2 separate regions of the Homo sapiens genome follow, and region 2 is linked to region 1. The links are contacts of gene promoters, found by promoter capture Hi-C in blood cells and fetal thymus (Javierre and others, 2016). All regions are on one chromosome and are shown on one strand. Each heading gives the region's core, a stretch centred on a gene start or on the middle of the fragment in contact. The rest is flanking DNA. Distances are from core to core; before and after follow the strand shown. Region 1 holds the start of KRT9 (keratin 9). Region 2 overlaps LOC105371775 (a long non-coding RNA gene).

Region 1 (4,916 bases), core at 1,062-3,561:
AACAAACAAACATGGAAAAAGGAAATCTTCCTCCAAGTGCTTCAGTATTATTATGTTTAGGATGATTATTATTATTTGAGACGGAGTCTTGCTCTGTCGCCCAGGCTGGAGCACAGTGGCGCAGATCTCACCTCACTGCAACTTGTGCCTCCTGGGCTCAAGTTGTTCTCATGCCTCAACCTCCTGAGTAGCTGGGATTACAGGTGTGTGCCACCACGCCTGGCTAATTTTTTGTATTTTTAGTAGAGACGGGGCTTTGCCATGTTGCCCAGCCTGATCTCAAACTCCTGAGCTCAGGCAATCTGCCCACCTCGGCTTCCCAAAGTGCTGGGATTACGGGCATGGGTCACCGTGTCCGGCCACTTCAGTATTATTTAACAGTCGTTGAGCATCACTTAAAAGCCCCTCAAGAAATACCAGTCATCTATGCCGCCTACACATGCAGGCATTGCCTCTTTCAGGCCCTTGCTGACCATCCTGGCAAAGAGATTTCCTTACCTTTAGCTCCTTTTCAGCAATGAGCATCTTTCTGGAATGACTGGTATCTTTCCTCCATCTCATATGTGTTGGGATCCTACTTGGATCAGACGTGGCGCTGGGCACTGGGGCAAGTACGAGATGAGCAGGGGCAGGCTTAGAGGAGCTCTGGCTGCCCGCAGAGAGAGGTTTCTTCTATTTTTTCAGTACATGAACTTTTATTCTTCATCAAGTGCTTCATAGAGCCATGGAGATAAGTGTGAGACACTATAACAGAGCACAGTACAAACCCAGGGGGCGAGAGTACAGGAAGACAGAGGAGGAGGCAGTCAGAGGGATCACTGAAGATGGGTAGTTTTCTGTGTAGAAAAGATGGAGTGGGACATTTCAATCAGAGGTCACTGCAAGTGCCGAGTATTCTTAGAGGGAAGAAGGGCATTTGGGAAGCATTGTATGATTTTCTAGGGGGCCTGGGGGATGGTGGGAGATGGGGCAGGAATGGAAAGATGGGGATGGGCCTAAGTGCCAGGAATGTGGACCTTATCTTGAGGGTGGAGGGAAACTGGTGAAGTGATGTTGTCAGACATGGATTAGAAAGGTCATTCTGGCTGCTGTGCAGGAAGAGTCAGAGGGAATGGGAGAGGCAGGGAGGGCAGTTAGAAGCTCATGGCTAAGGTCTGGGTGAGGGCAGAGTTGACGGGGAGTTAGGGGGCTGAATGATCAGAGGCAGCCGAACATTTTTTGAGCACTTCTCACAAGTCTCTTACTAGGAGATGGACAAACTACTCATATCAACCTTTTTCAAAGGAGGAAACTGAGGCACAGAGTATTTAAGTAACTTATCAAAGTCACACAGCTCATGAGCATGGAGCTGGATGGAGCTCAGGTAGGCACACCGGAGACCAGCGTGTTCTTTACCATTCTCTTCTGGCCTTGGTGACCAGAATATACATCCAAGTTTCTGCCAGGAGCAGGGATAAGTCACACATCTCTGTATCCCCTCCAGAGTTCTGTATGGGGTAGGCACTCAACCAAGGTCAATTCCACACTCCCTGCTGGGCCCTGCAAAAGGACCAGGACAGTCGAGCCACTTGCATTCCTGCTCAGAGGTCAGCTAGTGTCAGCACCACCTTGTTTATTTGGTCCACTTTCTTCTTCCAGCCCTTTGTGTGAACTCTGCACGCTGTCCTTTAGTGCTGGCGGGCATGGTCTCGGTGCCCGTCTCCATCTTTTGGCCATGCCAGTTGCCTCCTCATCAAACTGGAGTCTCCCAAGGGCAGAGCCTCAGACTCTGCAGAAAGCCTCGAGGATCCTGAGAGCAAGGATTGGTTTTCATCCATTTGGGGCTCCACAAGGGCAGGGGCTGTGCCTCCCCCTCCTCTATGATAACTCCTTAGTACCCTAGTTCCAGCTCAGCTCACAGTGGGCACAAGGTGGGAGCAAGGAGGCATGAGGGATGCAGACAGTAATGACCATCAATAGAGGAGGTGACTCTGCTCTTGGGAGTTTCTATCCCGAAGGGGCTAAGTCTCAGACCTGCTGTTGGGGCCAGCCAGAGACCAGACTCCAGGATCTAGGTCACCCCTGTGGCAGTACAGCTGATTTATGGTGGCCCTGACAGCCTAATGTCATCAAATTATCCCACACAATGGAGAGAGGCTGGGCCGCCCCCAGGCAGTCACCAAAGGACGCTGAGCCTGGGGCAGCCCGGCTGCCTCCGTATCCCAGACCTCCCTCGGGTCTGTGGGGGGAGGCTGGCACAGAACAAGGGCACACCCAGGCGTGCCACCTTCAGCTGGGGGTATAAGTAGGCAGCCCCAGGGACAGCTCTGTACCCTGCACTTGGGAGCCGGTAGCACTCCTATCACTGCTTCTCAACCCGTGAGCTACCAGCTGTGTCATGAGCTGCAGACAGTTCTCCTCGTCCTACTTGAGCCGCAGCGGCGGGGGTGGCGGGGGCGGCCTGGGCAGCGGGGGCAGCATAAGGTCTTCCTACAGCCGCTTCAGCTCCTCAGGGGGCGGTGGAGGAGGGGGCCGATTCAGCTCTTCTAGTGGCTATGGTGGGGGAAGCTCTCGTGTCTGTGGGAGGGGAGGCGGTGGCAGTTTTGGCTACAGCTACGGCGGAGGATCTGGGGGTGGTTTTAGTGCCAGTAGTTTAGGCGGTGGCTTTGGGGGTGGTTCCAGAGGTTTTGGTGGTGCTTCTGGAGGAGGCTATAGTAGTTCTGGGGGTTTTGGAGGTGGCTTTGGTGGTGGTTCTGGAGGTGGCTTTGGTGGTGGCTATGGGAGTGGGTTTGGGGGGTTTGGGGGCTTTGGAGGTGGTGCTGGAGGAGGTGATGGTGGTATTCTGACTGCTAATGAGAAGAGCACCATGCAGGAACTCAATTCTCGGCTGGCCTCTTACTTGGATAAGGTGCAGGCTCTAGAGGAGGCCAACAACGACCTGGAGAATAAGATCCAGGATTGGTACGACAAGAAGGGACCTGCTGCTATCCAGAAGAACTACTCCCCTTATTATAACACTATTGATGATCTCAAGGACCAGGTAGGTGCAGGAAACTGTCTCTGTCTTGGTCTCTTTCTCTTTCATTCTTTATCTTCCAAAAAAGTTAAAATGCTAAACTCTAAGCTCAGATAATAGCCAGGGAATCCACCTTTTGGAAATGTACGCTTTCATCAGAAACAAACTTGTGTTTGGTTTCTGGGGATCCCAGGATAGGACTTTGGCCTGTGCTCTGAGTGTTCACTTCCATTTCCTCAACTTTCAGAGTTTGGGCAGAGCAGAGAGGAGACCTGGGTTAACGTGAGCTGAGCTGGGACTGGATGTGGAACCTCCTTTAGGTTTGGTCTAAGTCAATACTTTCTCTTCCTTTGTACTTCTCCTGGGCTTCTTTAGGAGTGTATCTTGATCTTTTAAGGTATTTTGGACCTGACTGTACATGTTGGTTATTCAAGTGTTGGAGAGGATCCAGAAATCTGGGAATGGAAGCTATCTATCCATCCATCCTTCCATCTATCCCTTCCTCCCTCCACCCACATGTCTATCTATCTATCCATTTATTCAGCCACTCAGTTCAGTGAGTGCCTACCCTCAGGGTTGCTCTGGGTAGACATAGTGATGTGCTAGACCTAGTTCTGGTGGAGCTCACGGTCTGGCTCTTCAGTATTCTCAGTGATTCCTCTTGTTTTAACTCCTGCATGTCTCTGAATGTGCTGTTTCTTCTACTCTAAACCTCTTCCATTTATTTATTAATGTTACATCTTAGCCATCCTTCAGGGCCCAATTCAATTGCCAGCCACCTCCTTCCTGAAGTCTTTCTTGATCTCCCATTGCCATAAGCCACCTCTCCTTTCCTTGAACTCTTTTAGGACACTTTTGACTTTGTAGTCAATGGTGGGCTCCCTGAGGAACAGGATGTCAGTAATCTCTAAATCCTACAATGCCCTTTGCAGTAGATCTTCAAATATTTGTTGAATGAATGAATGAAGGCCACACCAAACATCTTCGCTGAAGGCTGGAAGGGGTCTGTGCCATGTCCCAGCTGTTGGAAGTTCCTCATTCCTCTTGAGAATCTTCCTGGATGGAATCCTCACCTCCTGTGGCTTTGCCTGGCCTCTTGCCCTCTCAGCAGTGGTCCACAGCATGATATCATGGCTGTGTCCTTTTTTTTTCAGATTGTGGACCTGACAGTGGGCAACAACAAAACTCTCCTGGACATTGACAACACTCGCATGACACTGGATGACTTCAGGATAAAGTGAGTCCTGCTCCTCTTCTCCTCTCCTGTCATCAGCCCTTACCCCTGAACCTCAGTGCTCTGGAGGTCCTGGTAGGGCCTGGTTCCCTCTTGATTGTTTTCTAACCCTGGCTGGTCTGCAGGTTTGAGATGGAGCAAAACCTGCGGCAAGGAGTGGATGCTGACATCAATGGCCTGCGGCAGGTGCTGGACAATCTGACCATGGAGAAGTCTGACCTGGAGATGCAGTATGAGACTCTGCAGGAGGAGCTGATGGCCCTCAAGAAGAATCATAAGGAGGTAGGTTGCTGGGGCTTATGGCTTACCGGGAAGAGGGAGGAGCAGAAATGCAGAGACAGCAGGGGAGCTTTGGAACATTACCTGGGAGACACCCTCTCCTTTGCTCTTGAGGACACTTTCAACTTCTCCTTGGCATCACCTATGGTAGTGGTTGGGCTTTGGCTTCACAACTGTGTCCCCTTTTTGTACCCTGGGGGGACCAGAGGGAGAATTCTGAAAGGTGGTGCAGAGGACTTTATCCGTGACCTCATCTCCCCTTCTTCCCTGGCAGGAGATGAGTCAGCTGACTGGGCAGAACAGTGGAGATGTCAATGTGGAGATAAACGTTGCTCCTGGCAAAGATCTCACCAAGACCCTCAATGACATGCGTCAGGAGTATGAGCAGCTCATTGCTAAGAACAGAAA
Region 2 (5,502 bases), core at 2,494-4,993, 880 kb after region 1:
GTGCAAATAGCTTTTCACATTTTCCAACAGGGAGTTAAGCAAATGCAGTTTTCTTTCTTTGCCAAGAGGTTCACTAGGCACATAAAAAAGGCAGTGTTAAGGAGAACTGCATTATGATTATAGAAAGCATTAAAAGTTAAAGATAATGTACTCTATTTTGCATAAAAGATTTAGTTTAAAAAGAAGTGCCAACCAAAATTAAAGAAGCAATGATATAACAATATAGGTTATATGGCGAAGGTGCACTTCTAGTGCCACATAAAATTGCATTTTTAAAAAATCATCCAATGATTTATTTTCATCATGAATTTTTTATTTGCTTTTTCTCTTAGAAAAGCTCCCTGGAGGGAACCCTGGCTGACACAGAAGCTGGCTACGTGGCTCAGCTGTCAGAAATTCAAACGCAGATCAGTGCCCTGGAGGAGGAGATCTGCCAGATCTGGGGTGAGACTAAATGCCAGAACGCAGAGTACAAGCAATTGCTGGACATCAAGACACGCCTGGAGGTGGAGATCGAGACCTACCGCCGCCTGCTCGATGGAGAGGGAGGGTAAACCAAAGTCATGAACAAACTAAAATGCATACCTTAGTGAATTTATTTTATAAAACCAAAATGGGACTCAGGGCTTAGACTTGTATATATAGAGAGTAATAAAGTAACAGACACAGGCTGCGTGCAGTGGCTCAGGCCTGTAATCCCAGCACTTTGGGAGGCTGAGGTGGGAGAATCACGTGAGCCCAGGAGTTCAAGACCAGCTTGAGCAACATAGCAAAACCCCTTCCTCTTCAAAAAATAATTTTTAAAAAATTAGCTGGAGGCTGGGCACAGTGGCTCATGCCTGTAATCCCGGCACTTTGGGAGGCCAAGGCAGGCAGATCACGTGAGGTCAGGAGTTCGAGACCAGCCTGGCCAACATGGTGAAATCCTGTCTCTACTAAAAATACAAAAATTAGCCAGGCGTGGTGGCACACACCTGTAGTCCCAGCTACTCAGGGGACTGAGGCGGGAAGATCACTTGAGCTCAGGAGGCTGAGGCTGCAGTGAGCTGTAATCATGCCACTATACTCCAGCCTGGGTGATAGAACGAGACCTTGTCTCAAAAAAAAAAAAAAAAAAATTAGCTGGGCATGGTGGTGCACACCTATAATCCCAGATACTGGGGAGGCTGAGACAGGAGGATCACTTGAGCCCAGGAGTGCAAGGTTGAACAAAAAAGCAGCAGACACAATCCAATTAAAACACATAAACACATCCAAAACTTCATCATGAAGAATCCCCGGGGCGGAGGCTTTCTCCTGCCTTTGCAAACTGCAAAGGAAAACATAATTCTTTTTTTCTCCAGTGGTTCTAGTTTTGCAGAATTTGGTGGTAGAAACTCAGGATCTGTAAACATGGGATCCAGGGATCTGGTATCTGGTGACTCAAGATCTGGAAGCTGTTCTGGTCAAGGACGAGGTAGACTTTTTTTAATATTGATAATAGTTCTGTAATTTAAAAGTGAAGACATACTTTGCTTGTCATACTAAAAGAGTCCGCTATTTTTTACATAATCTTACCCAGACAGAACACGTTGAATGCATGTGATTGAATTTCTCTTGCTCTGTGTTTCTGTGAGAGTTTCCAGACTGACATTGCAATCCCATGATTTTCAGATTCAAGCAAGACTAGAGTGACTAAGACTATCGTAGAGGAGTTGGTGGATGGCAAGGTTGTCTCGTCTCAAGTCAGCAGTATTTCTGAGGTGAAAGTTAAATAAGGAACTTCCAGATCAACAAAAGTGTCTTTCAAAGAAAAAAAAATCAAGAAGGACACAAGCGAAGAAATGGCATCAATCTAGGCATCTTTCTGGATAATTTCAGGAAAAGCTTCAGTCCAGAAATGGATGACTAGCCAACTTTTCTGCATCTTCTTATTTCCTCATTAGAATGCTCTTGAAATAGCTGAATTAACAACTTTGCTTTAATTGTTTCTATGCTTCAATAAATTTACTTTTGCAAGTTAATTATTACTTATTTTTTTAAAAAGTATTTTACCTAGGAAGGAAGCTATCAAGTATGATCTAGCTGCATGACTATATTACTAATGTCAGTTCATTCTTTATATCTTACTGTTGTAACTGAGCGAGTTATAGAGAAATGACACACTCTGAGACTAATTCAGGAGTCCTTTTATTGCCGGCGAACAAGACGGCTAGAGCTCAAAATTCTCTCGGCCCCGAAGAAGGGGCTAGATTTCTTTTTATATCGTGGTCTAAATAGGGGAGAGGGAGTTTAGCTGAAGCAATTTTTACAGAAGCAGAACAGGCAAACCAATTAAGAAAGATTAATTGGTTACAGAAACAGTTACAGAAAAGTAAACAGTTCCAGGTGCAGGGGCTCAAACTATCACAAAGAGATAATGCAGGGGCTTTGGGTGCCATCCCCCAAGCGCGTCCTCAGGAACTGCTGATTTAGCTTGCCTCGATATCTCATCAGTAAGCGCATTCCTGGATGTGCTCGGAGTCAGCTTGCACTACTTATGCCTTTAAGGGAGGGGAGCTGCAAGTGAAGAAACAAAAATGGAGTCTGTCCGGCTCTCTCAGCTAAGAGAGACAATCAGGTTAAAACGAGGTAGGGTATCACATTACCTTCTTTATACAATTCAGATTATAGTCATTTTTTTAATGTGGGCATTTTTAATGGCATCACATAAGAACTCAGTGGCATGATAGCTGAAATTAGACTACCGTGTCAACGGCTTAGCCCACAAAGAAGGATGTGATTATTTTAATAATCAACTTATAATTAATGTCTAGTTTATATATGTCCATCACTGAACTCGATATTTTATAAGATAAAAAAGAAACTCAAAATCTCCCTCCTACTTCAAAAAGCTCACATTTCAGCAGAGAAGAAGAGCTAAAACACAAAGAAGACAGCAAGCAATAAAAAGCTGTTAATAGTAAAGACTTGATTTCACAATCTGCATCAGAAGTGACATAGGAATCAGACATGTGTGTTTACAGGACATTTAGGACAGGGGCCAAAAAAGAGTCTTGGGAAATAAGATTGGCTATGTGATATGGCAATCTGATTTCCTGAAACCTTGAAAGCCCCAAAGAGAAGAGATCCTCAGGCACTTGTTCCCCTGCCAAATCTAGCCACATCTTTAGCCAAAACCTGCCACTTCGCCAAGCTGGTGTTTCTTTTCCCCAGTCTCCACTGCTAAGATCTTTCATCCCGTTGGTGGTCATAGCCCTATTCTTTCATTTCTACAGTATCCCTGAGGCCACATGGCTTTGTCTTGTCTTGTTTGGGATGATGAAACCTGTTAAGATTGGGTAGGAGGTGGTACGGGCCCCAGGAAGAACCAGGCATAGCACCAACCCAGGCTGGCTAAGGGCTTTCTCAATCAAGGAATTTAATATGCCCATATCACAAATTAGAGAATCAACTCTACAAGCCAGTCCTCAAGGAAAGAACACGGGACGTGGCATAAAAAGCCAAATGTAAAGTTATAAAAGGACAAATCTGAACATGTATCTTCCAATATAAAACCAATTAAGAATTGTGTGAGCATATCAAACCTATCATCAAAACATGTAGTTTTTCATCTTCTGGGCACATTGAATAAAACTTAAAATGAACCTCTGGGTACATTATGACTTCTGCTTAAATAGCTAACCACAGAATAAGGTTAATAGCTAACCACAGAATAAACATTAAACCACTACTCAAAGAAAAAGAGCAATGTTAAGTTGCTTAAGTCAAAGCTGTTTTCCACCATCAAATCATTACAATAAATAAAACCCTGAATGCTTCTTCTCTGCTGAAATACTAAAAGTCTGAACCAGCTCATCCAACTGGATTCATAGCTCAAGAGCAGAAATGGAAATCTGCCGTAAGCAGCCTGCAGAACCTAAGCCATCCCGGCCACATCAGCGAAGCCTCTCTCTGTGGGTCTTCTCAAGTCTAACCTTCTAGCTGTGGATTTTGGCCACCTGAGACCTATGTTCATGGCTAGTACTATTTTCATGTCAAGGCAAAAGTATAAGGCTACTCTGAAAGTCATCTCGAGGTGAAAACCCTCATCTGTTCTTCCTTGTCATGCGTTAAGATGCTGCGTTTGTACTGAATGATTGTTTACAAATATAGAAAAGGCCCAATCATAGACACCAGAACACTGAGACACAATAGAATGTGTTGTTAAGGGCATGTTCAATTTTGAAAACTGAAACTATTCAACCATTTTGGATCATAAAACGTATTTACAGTGCTGAATAAAAAGTTAAGGACATGGTGTTCATACATTATTACTTGCCTTAAAATTATTTTAAAACTCTACAATAGGAATATGTTTATTGTGAGACCCTAAAGTTCAGCTCTCCAGGCAATTTTTTTGCTTTGTTTTGTTACAGGGTCTCGCTCTGTTGCCCAGGCTGGAGTGTAGTGGTGCCATCTCGATTCACCTGCAGCCTCAACTTCCTGGGCTCAAGCAATCCTCCCACCTCAGCCTCCTGAGTAGCTGCAGGCAACCATGCCCAGCTAATTTTGTTTATTTTTTGTAGAGATGGAGTTTCACTATGTTGCCCAGGCTGGTCTCAAACTCCTGGGCTCAAGCAATCCTCCCACCTCGGCCTTCCAAAGGGCTGGGGTTATAGGCATGAACGACTGCATTCAGCCTCAACTTTTGAATGAGAGGAACACATTTCTTTTTTCTAAGAGTGGATTTACTGTAAGAAGGGAGAGCTCATGCCCACATGCACATGGGCTTTCTTTTTTGTTTGTTTGTTTTTTTTGAGACAGAGTCTCTCGCTTGTCGCCCAGGCTGGAGTGCAGCGGCGCGATCTCGCCTCCACCTCCCAGGTTCAAGCGATTCTCCTGCCTCAGCCTCCTGAGTAGCTGGGATTACAGGCACGCGCCACCAAGCCCAGCTAATTTTTGTATTTTTAGTAGAGACGGGGTTTCACCATGTTGGCCAGGCTGGTCTCGAACTCCTGACCTTGGGATCCGCCCACCTCGGCCTCCCAAAGTGCTGGGATTACAGGCGTGAGCCACCGCACCCAGCCTCGCACATGGGTTTTCACCCGTTGACTTTTAATCCAGAGATTCACAGGGTTGTTTTTTCTTTCTCACCTCAGGGAAGTATACACAAGAATGATGAGAATGGTCGACGTGGCATCCATCCTCACAGAGATGACAAACAAGAAACAAGGTTCACAGCAGGCAGCTCAGAGTAAACGGCTAAAGTATTTGAAGCTCTAAGGAAAGTGGCCTAAACTGGCTTGACGACTTCGTGGAATTAGACAGTGTTCACCCAGGAGGAGACAAACTGGTGAATATAAATCACCCAAAATGAAGCTCAAGTAATATTATCCACACAACCTCCTCAAGGAACAAAATACTACAAGTAATAAACCACTTTAAAAACTTTTCAGTGGCTGAGATATGACACTTGGGTAACAGAAAATATTGATCAAGCCCTTCTGAAAACAAAGTACTCATTTGTAATATCAATGTCAA

The links. The method cuts DNA at HindIII sites, captures the fragments that hold promoters and counts their contacts. A CHiCAGO score of 5 or more calls a contact.
Region 2: a fragment that was not itself captured here is called in contact with the fragment with the promoter of KRT9 in region 1 in 2 of 17 cell types (erythroblasts and M1 macrophages); the score reaches 6.7 in erythroblasts.

The regions. Positions count from the first base shown.
Region 1 is chr17:41,569,454-41,574,369 of GRCh38, reverse strand. It overlaps KRT9 (keratin 9), which reads left to right and starts at 2,311. Exons shown (of 8, transcript NM_000226.4): 1 at 2,311-3,019; 2 at 4,150-4,232; 3 at 4,355-4,511; 4 at 4,783-4,916. The coding sequence starts at 2,378. The HindIII fragment of the contact is 20,188 bases long and covers 1-4,916 here.
Region 2 is chr17:40,694,492-40,699,993 of GRCh38, reverse strand. It overlaps LOC105371775 (a long non-coding RNA gene), which reads right to left. Exons shown (of 4, transcript XR_934751.2): 4 at 2,154-2,538. KRT24 (keratin 24) reads left to right here. Exons shown (of 8, transcript NM_019016.3): 6 at 333-550; 7 at 1,344-1,456; 8 at 1,654-2,003. The coding sequence ends at 1,757. Among named protein-coding and RNA genes, the nearest start is that of KRT24, 6.5 kb to the left of the region's middle. The HindIII fragment of the contact is 3,749 bases long and covers 1,869-5,502 here.